2 separate regions of the Homo sapiens genome follow, and region 2 is linked to region 1. The links are contacts of gene promoters, found by promoter capture Hi-C in blood cells and fetal thymus (Javierre and others, 2016). All regions are on one chromosome and are shown on one strand. The core of a region is centred on a gene start or on the middle of the fragment in contact, and the rest is flanking DNA. Distances in the headings are between cores, read along the strand shown.

Evidence for each region. Contacts are between HindIII fragments. The CHiCAGO score rates a contact against its expected background, and 5 or more counts as called.
Region 2: a contact is called between a fragment that was not itself captured here and the fragment with the promoter of NCK2 in region 1, in 1 of 17 cell types (activated CD4 T cells). The highest score is 5.1, in activated CD4 T cells.

The regions. Positions count from the first base shown.
Region 1 is chr2:105,742,972-105,747,164 of GRCh38, forward strand. NCK2 (NCK adaptor protein 2) reads left to right here and starts at 1,941. Exons shown (of 5, transcript NM_003581.5): 1 at 1,941-2,167. RefSeq lists silencers at 1,592-1,911, 2,102-2,161, 2,272-2,661 and enhancers at 3,032-3,101, 3,202-3,251. The HindIII fragment of the contact is 4,864 bases long and covers 1-3,578 here.
Region 2 is chr2:108,618,231-108,622,423 of GRCh38, forward strand. All of the region lies in intron 1 of LIMS1 (LIM zinc finger domain containing 1), which reads left to right. Among named protein-coding and RNA genes, the nearest start is that of LIMS1-AS1, 58 kb to the right of the region's middle. The HindIII fragment of the contact is 4,794 bases long and covers 1-4,159 here.

The DNA.
Region 1 (4,193 bases), core at 691-3,190:
AAAAACAATCAACTCTCTCTTTAAAAAAAAAAGGTGCGTATCAGAATAAAAACAAAGGGCCACCATCTGCCTTGGGGATATCACTTTTACAGGGTGGGAAGACAACAACCTCTCTAGAGGAGGCAGATGGGCAGGTCAGAAAGGTAAGAGAATCAGAACTGGCTGTGTTTGATGAATGAAAAGATGATGGTGTTTCAGGAAATAGCAGAAATGCCACATATTTCAGAAAACTCCACAGGATAAAGATTGATAAAGGGCCACTGGATTTAGATAGAGAATGACATCGGTGACTTCTAAAGAATCAGAGAAAGAAGAGGCATGCAAGAACCACGATTCAGTGAAAGTTTACAAAGCAAACAAGCTACAAACTGGGTCAATATTGCTATACTTATTTTGAGTAAATTAATCTAAAATTGGGCAGACTGATGACTAGAATTCTTCTTTTCTTATTGTAAAGCTAGATATTAGTAACACAAAACTTGCACAAAAGGATGAACTGAAGTAGCTTCTTTCACAAGGTCAAAACAAGGAAAAATGAGGCTGTTCTGATTCCCTGAGCTTGTACCTGATTCCTGCTCAGTGTACTGTGCTTCCTTCCACTTACTGAGCTATTGAGGGCTACCTACTGCCAGGGTACTTCACATAGGAGGTAAGTAAATATTATCTCCCCATATGACAGATTTTAGAAAGGCTGAGGACCACCTGTGCAACGTTACACAGTTCAGGAAGTCAACAGTCAAACACTCACCTGTCTGACTTCAAAGCTACGCTGACTCTAGTTACCTATCCTTGGGTACTTCCCTTCTGGAAGGAAGCAGGAGATGAGTGAATCAAATAATACAGCCTTGTAACCTTGGGTAAATTATTATTGCCTTAATAGTAAGCAGAGACCAGGAGCCTAAGAAAGAATCTCATTAACATGGATGCAGGCTATCCTGCCAGGAAATCAGAATCATTTGAATATTAGGATTTCCTTTGGGAAACCATATGGGGAGGAGAAAAGACATCCGGATGCATGTGTCTGTGAAAGGGAAACTTGTGTCTTTCCCCTTGCTCTTGGGTTTTCATCTTCCAAGTTTGTTTATAGGCTAGCCACAACTCGAGGCTGGGTGAGCTGAACGGTCCCATCATTAGCGACACTCCTTCTAGGGGCACATTCGGGCAGCTCCTCTTCGGGTTCTGCCCCCACGGGTGTGCAACCAGGATTCCACAGGCTGGGGCTGGCCTGGATGCCTGGGAGGCAACAGAGGTCGAGTTTCTTCTTCTTTTAGGAAGTGCCTCGGACAGGGATGATGGACTAAAAATGTGTCTGGTTGGGAAAGTAAATAGATGCAAAGCAAATAAATAAAAATGCCCACAAGCAATTACAGGGAGGAAGTGACATTTTTATTTAAGTCACTTTTCTGATGGACAACAGGCCTGCTTAGCTGAGTGCCGTGGGAATGCTTCCGGGAGGGGGGCGGCTGCCCAGCAACTAGAGCTTCGTGATAAGAACAACGAACAAACAAAAAAGAGGACGCAAAGCCCACCCGGCAGTCATCCCAGGCTGGAAGTTGCCGTCTGTGTTTTCACTCTCCTCCCCACCCACCTACCCTGCCCCCCACCGCCCGCACGCAATTTCGGGCGTGGGGACCCTTTCCTGCCCCCGGCGCCCGGCCCGTGCTGCGCCTCCAGAGCGGAGCGTCCCGCAGCCCCGCGCTATCCCGGCGCCCGTACCGGGACCCGGGCGCGGAGCCTGGCGACGACGGGGGGCGCCCCAGGTGGGTCTCGGGTCCCCGCCCCGCGCGCCCGGGCCTGGGCCGGCCCCTGGGCGGCGTCACGGCGCGGCCGGGGAGGAGCGCGGGAGGAGGAGGAAGAGCGCGGAGGAGGCGGGCGCTGCGCGCCGGGGGAGGGTCGCCGCCGCCGCCGCCGCCGCCGCCGCCGCTGCCGCGGGGATCGTCAGGCCGGAGCCGCGCGGCCGAGCGGGCGGCGGGCGGAGGGGAGGGCTTGGCGGCCGGGAGGCTCGCGGCGCCCGGGCCGGCAGGGTCCGCCCGGGCCGGCAGCGTCCGCCCGGCGGCGGGAGGAGGGAGCGGCGCAGACAAAGAGCGGCGCCTGGGCGGGCGCAGCGCGGCCACCGCCCCGGGACCCGCGCCGCTGCCCTCCGGCTCCGCGGGCGGCCCACGGCGAGGTAAGCGCGGCTAGGCGGGCGTGGGGCGGGGGCCACAAACTTGGGGCCGTTGGGCGGAGTTGGGAGCGCGGCGGGGCTCGCGGGCCGGGGTGCGCCCGGGAAGGGGCCAGGAGAGCGGGTCCCCTCCGCGCCCCTCCGGTGCTCTCGGCCCTGCCGCGGCCTGGGCGCCCCCGACCGCGGACTGCCGGGCACCTCCCGGCTCTGCACCTTCCTGCCCGCCTTCCCATCCCTAACCCCCACCATCGGGGGCCGGCCCAGGGGCGGGGACGCCAGCCAAGGGCGCGGGCGAGGATCAGGGCAGGGGGCCCGGCTGCGGGGCCCGGGGACTGGAGACCCCCGGGTGCGCAGGCTGCGCCTGGCCTGCAGGCGGGCGGCCGGCACGGAGCTCGGGGCTAGCGTGGGACCGTGCGGTGGCCAGGGTCGCCAGGGCGCGTGTGCCGGGGAAGAATAGCCGCGGATCGCAGGGCCCCGGCGCAGGGACGGGGGAGGCCGCGATCGGCCGGGAGAACTTAACCGTGTTTATTACAACTATTTATGTTCGCGCACAAAGCTGCTGTCACATTGCATAAAGGAGGTCCTCGCTTCGGCGAAGGGAGCTTTTGTGCCCGGCTTCAGGCTCTGCGCCCTGCCCCAGATTTACAGGACTCTAACAGCCACCTGAATGAACCAAAGTTTCTCACAATCGCTCGGCTCTCTCGGTTTTTTTCAGGGCGATTTAATCACCGAGTGCTTTTGGAAAAATTTGATATGTGAGTTTTAAGGCATGGAGGGTAACTGCCTTATGAGCACAGTTAGCTTGGCATTGTGTGGAGGGGTTTAATTTGCAAAACGCTTTAATTTGTAGACAATGGGGATCTCTGTGAAGGTCTGCGGTGGATGCTAGGGGTCATTGGCTGGTGGACCCCAGGCACCTGACTTAAACTAGTATTGTAACAGCTTCAGGGACAAAGCCGAGCGTGCGTGGAGTCGGCCTTGGCCACTTCACACAATTCAGGTTGGCAGATTCCTCTTTATTTGGCTTTGTTTATTTTGCCAACAGGTTTAAGGCTGCTTCTGCCAAGTTTGCATCTGCATAATGGGATGAGCAGGCCCCAGTGTGGGCAGGAGGGGGCCTAAAATATCGCAAGGGCCAGCTCCGTCCCTCGACCCAGAAAGAAACAACCCTGAGAGGCCGGTGGGCGTGGCTTGCTGGGACCTACAGGTAGGGGAGTCCCTTCCTGGCCCAGGCGCAGTCCCCGCTTCTCGGAAGGGATTTTGTGTAGGAATGAAAGTGATTCAGGGTGTTTTTCATGCCTCTGTTTTAGATGTAGTTATCAAGTCTCAAAAGTGACTGAAAATGAAATTAACCTGGGCCGCTTTAACTTACCAAAACGGAACTGTGCGTGTGAACACTCCCTCAATTCACTTTGCAAGCTTCATAGATAAGCAGGTGAATTAGTAACAGGATTCAAGCCTTGCGAGTTTTACGTAAAGAGAATGGCAGTCATCGGACACGTGGAGAAGAAATTGACTTCACCTGGAGATTGGGCTAGACATGGAGGTTTTTTGACGTTTGGAACAGGGGTTTCCTGAGAAGCAAGTGTTAACCTGCTTGTGAAGAAGTGAACACGAGGGAAAATCCTACCTCAGTATATTCTGCCCTGGAGGTTGGTTAGATGTAGTTTTGATTGGAGAAGGTGGCGGAATCTTAGTGGTCTTCTGGCGGCTACTTGAGGCTGAAATGGAGAACTTTAGGCATAGGAAGCTGTGGAGGTGCCTGGCCCACTTCCTGTCCCGGAGGCCTCGCCTGGATTCTGAGCTTCTTTCCTGCTTCATAAACATTCAGGGGGGTTGGTCATGAAACACTGGATGAAATTGGGTCACAAATTGCCATCAGGAAGAGTTGGCTGCTGCATAACCCCCTCTGTCCACTTGTGGAGAAACTGACCCTGTTAACCGTCGGGCTTGCTGAAGGTGCCTTGCAGGTGGCTGTGCTCAGTTTTCATGCTTTGTGTTTTGCTTAGGACACGCTGCATACTTAAATCTT
Region 2 (4,193 bases), core at 513-3,012, 2.9 Mb after region 1:
CATTTATACAGGCCTCCCTCTGTACTGTCAAAATCATGCTAAGACAGTTATTTGAAATTTGAAACCCTTTTAAATAGGGCCTGATCTGAGAATTCAGGCATAATTAATAATTCCATCTCCATGGGAAAGTACATTTGAAAGGAAAAATAGATGGGGACTCCTCCCTGTCTTTGTCATGGCCCTGCTGTGTGTCCTGGGTGTTTGCCCATCTGACCCCCTTCCCTGTGCTGATGTGCTGCTGTCTGAAGGGTGCTGGGGAGGGAAAGCAGTCCTCTCTCTCTCTCTCTCTATCTTCAGTGAAAAGATCCTGGTTAGGCGGGGCACGGTGGCTCACGCCTGTAATCCCAGCCCGTTGGGAGGCTGAGGCGGGCAGATCACAAGGTCAGGAGATCAAGACCATCTTGGCCAACATGGTGAAACCCCATCTCTACTAAAATACAAAAAATTAGCCAGGCGTGGTTGCGCGTGCCTATAATCCCAGCTACTTGGGAGGCTGAGGCAGGGGAATCGCTTGAACTCGGGAGGTGGAGGTTGCAGTGAGCTGAGATCGTGCCACTGCACTCCAGCCTGGCGACAGAGCAAGACTCCGTCTCAAAAAAAAAAAAAAAAAAAAAGATCCTGGTTAAAAAGGCCTTCCCCAAAGGCCCAGAATTTAATTTTACTCAGCTGTGGCAGTTTCATCAGAACATAAGCATTGATTTGCTGAAGTTCCTGTTTGTCAGTACAGCCTTTTTAAAAGTCAGAGGGCAAGAATTGTTTCAGCTCGTTTGTTTTATGGCTTGGTAACTGTCCCTGTTACTGCTCTCCCCCGCCCCGTCTAACCCCCTGCACATCCTTTTAACACTAGTCTCATCAAATGCAGGATTCATCCTACACAGTTAGGTGTTTCCTGTCTGGTTAACCTTTAGTAGTCACCAAGTTGTTTTCCCTTGTCAGCAAGCTGCATTAATTTTTAAAAACTCTTTTAAAAATAAGCAATTATTTACATTTCCTATGGAGACAGGTCATATTTAATGTTGGGATTTCTGTATTTACAATGAATATACAATTGATTTGTGTTTTATTCATTAGGCGTCTATTCTGTGTTGATGGTGGGGGAAAACAAGGAAGATTAGTGGTTGTTTCTGTTCTTTTTTTTTTTTTTTAACTTGTCTTGATTTTAAAAAACGAAGGCTGGGCACGGTGGCACACGCCTGTAATCCCAGCAATTTGGGAGGCCGAGGCAGTTCGATCACTTGAGGCTTGGAGTTCGAGACCAGCCTGGCCAACATGGCAAAACCCCATCTCTACTAAAAATTCAAAAATTAGCTGGGCGTGGTGGCGCAAACCTGTAATCCCAGCTACTGGGGAGGCTGAGGCACGAGAATCACTTGAACCCGGGAGGCGGAGGTTACAGTGAGCCGAGATTATGCCACTGCACTCTAGCCTGGGTGACAGAGGGAGACTCTGTCTCAAAAAACAAAACAAAACAAAACAAAAAGAATTGGATACTTCAGGAGTTCTAAATTGAAATGTTTCTATTACTGTAAACTAAATTGTTTGGTATTTAAATCTTCTACATTCTATTTGTTTTTGAGTGGCAATATATTCAAAGTTCAGAAGGTGTAGAGTGGTGTGTGTAGTGGAAATGCTTCCTTCTGCTTCTGTCTCCCCAGGTCCCTCAGAAGCAGCCAGTATTACCGGTTTTTTGTATACCCTCCCGGAGACAGATGTAACTGTCAACTGATTTTTTAAAACGTGTTTCATCACTCATTAAATCTAGTGTAGTGACAAAAATGGTAAATTTTTTCCCTGCATCTTTAAAAACATATGCTGTGTTTGAATGGCAATTATGAAAAGTCATTTGTTTTTCCTGGGGCCGTGGACCTAGCGTAACAAATGGTAGCCCTCAGGGGAACTAGCATCTGTGTCCTAAGTGAAGGAATAAGATGTAGACTTCCCTTTCCTATGGGTTGCCTTAATTTTTGTATATATAGAGCAGATTCTCTCAGAGATGGGAATAACTCTCTAGCTCTTAGTGTAAAAATATTATCAGACCCATTTCTCTGTGTTCTTGTCGAGAAGGTTCTAAAAGGAAAAGAGGCTGGTATAAATTGCCCAGAGAAAAATTCCTAGAACCATTTAGTCAAACTACTGGCTAAGATCTTGCTGGGAGGTAGCCTGTATTTGTGGTGTGGTCCTGTGTTCCCAGTGGGACTGAAGTGGATTGGAGGGCCGTGCTGTGCCTGCTGTTGGGTAGCATCACTTTGAGCTGGATGACGAAGGACTTTCCCCAAACCTGTCCTCTGTTGTACACATCCCCACACCCAAAACCTTCCTAACATTGTCACTTTCCGAGGTCAAATGTACAGATAAATACAGGGTATATAGGACCCATTCCACCTTAAAGCCAACAGCATTGTGTCAGCCGGGGTGGCCTTTCCTACGAGAGGGCATTATTCACAGCCAGTAATTACAATGAATGAAGGAAGAAACCATCTTCCTTTCAGTTATGAATTCTTCAGTAATATTTAATGAGGGGTGGGTGGACCAAAGACACTTCCTTCCCTTCTGAAGAGGATTTAGAGTGGAGTGGTAAGGGGGAGGAATTGGACTGCTTCCCTTTAGAATTCTGCCCCTCCTCTCCTTTTTAAGGAAAATGTCCCTAAGGAGCTCACTATAACCAGGCGGTTCTTTAAACTGACAACTGCCTGTGAAGTGTTGATGGATTTCCTGGCAAATAAAACAGCAGGACCCTTCTTTAGCGACTACCTTACTGGAGCTTTTTAGCCCAATTTTAGTTCAGAGTGGTCCTGGCAAGGTTTTTAAAGGAATTGGTGTGATTATTCATAACAATTAAATTTTGCTTATTAATAAACAAGTAAGTAACCTGCCTTCTTGGTCACCGCTTCCCCCCTCCCCAAGGTGCGAGGCCCAGAGATAAGGCAAGTTGTGCCTTGCTGAGGAGGGTGTGTACCAGTGAGAAACAGGAAGCTGTGCTTCAGCAGCTTGGTCTGCCTGGAGGTTTCTAAGGCTGAGTCAGGTGTGCTGAGGTCCCTCGGCAAGGGACGCTGCTTTCCCCTGGCAGCCACACTGCTGAGCATAAATGCTTTAAAGTGTCAGCAATTGATGTGTGGAGAGAAGTATGACTGCATTACAGCTTAAAGAGCTTTCACATTCAGGTCTCTACAGGAGAAGACGAGATCGCCCCGATAGTTTGAGAGTAAATGGGTTACCAGAGGAAGAGCTAAGGTGAGTGCAAAGTCATGGTTGGCTAAAGGTCAAGACATCTAATCTAGTAAGTGCAGTGGGGATTCATGCCTAAGTGGATGCAGCGTTGGGAAGTACTCATTGAAAAGTAGCCTCTTAGTCTGTAATTAAAAACTGAACACAATATCAAGATTGTACTGATTGGAACTGTGCAAAACCAGAATACTTTTGCCCATTTCTTCACAAATCCTTTAAGTTGTTTTACCCCTTCTCCAAACCTACAGTGTTGTTATGTCTTTAAAAATTATATAATCACCAGAAATATTTTAAATTGAAAACAACTGATTTTTCCACTTAGTTTAAAGAGAGTTTTCTTTGGCTGATTGGAACATGTTTTTGTCTGTGTTTTGATGAAGGTGGGTAGTTTGTGGTGGTTTGGGGTTGGGGGAGGGGTGCCATGGAGATTGTTACTGAAATGGTGTAACAAAGGAATGCAGTGGAACTATTCAATGTAGCCTAGGAAGGAAGGACATCAAAAACCTGGAAACCTTTTTAACTAAAAAGGTTAGAGTTCTTGGCTTTCAAAGTGAATTTCCCTAAAACAACACAATTTTATTTTTTTGTTGCAACTACTGAAAATTTCTTAGATTTGAGGTTCTGAAAGCCTCTACAACATTAAGCCTATGTGTTAAAATACTGCATTAACTGAAGGGTTTAGATTTTCCCTGTTCCTGGGATGTTCCTGTTTTACTGATGACAGAAGGCTGCAGTAAAGAGAGACTTCCTTTTTTTAAATTACATTTACTGTTTAGTACTTTAATTTGGAGGTCTTGATTTAAGTGTTTGAATATTCTGATTAGATGGCGGGAAGGCTATCTATACTTTGTGTACTATTGTTCTTTTTCCTACAAACTAACTTCCAGAGTTTATTTTAAATTCTCTATTTAAATGTAACAAGGACAAATTGACAAGCTTCAACTTCTCTATTAAATTTGTATTTGTCA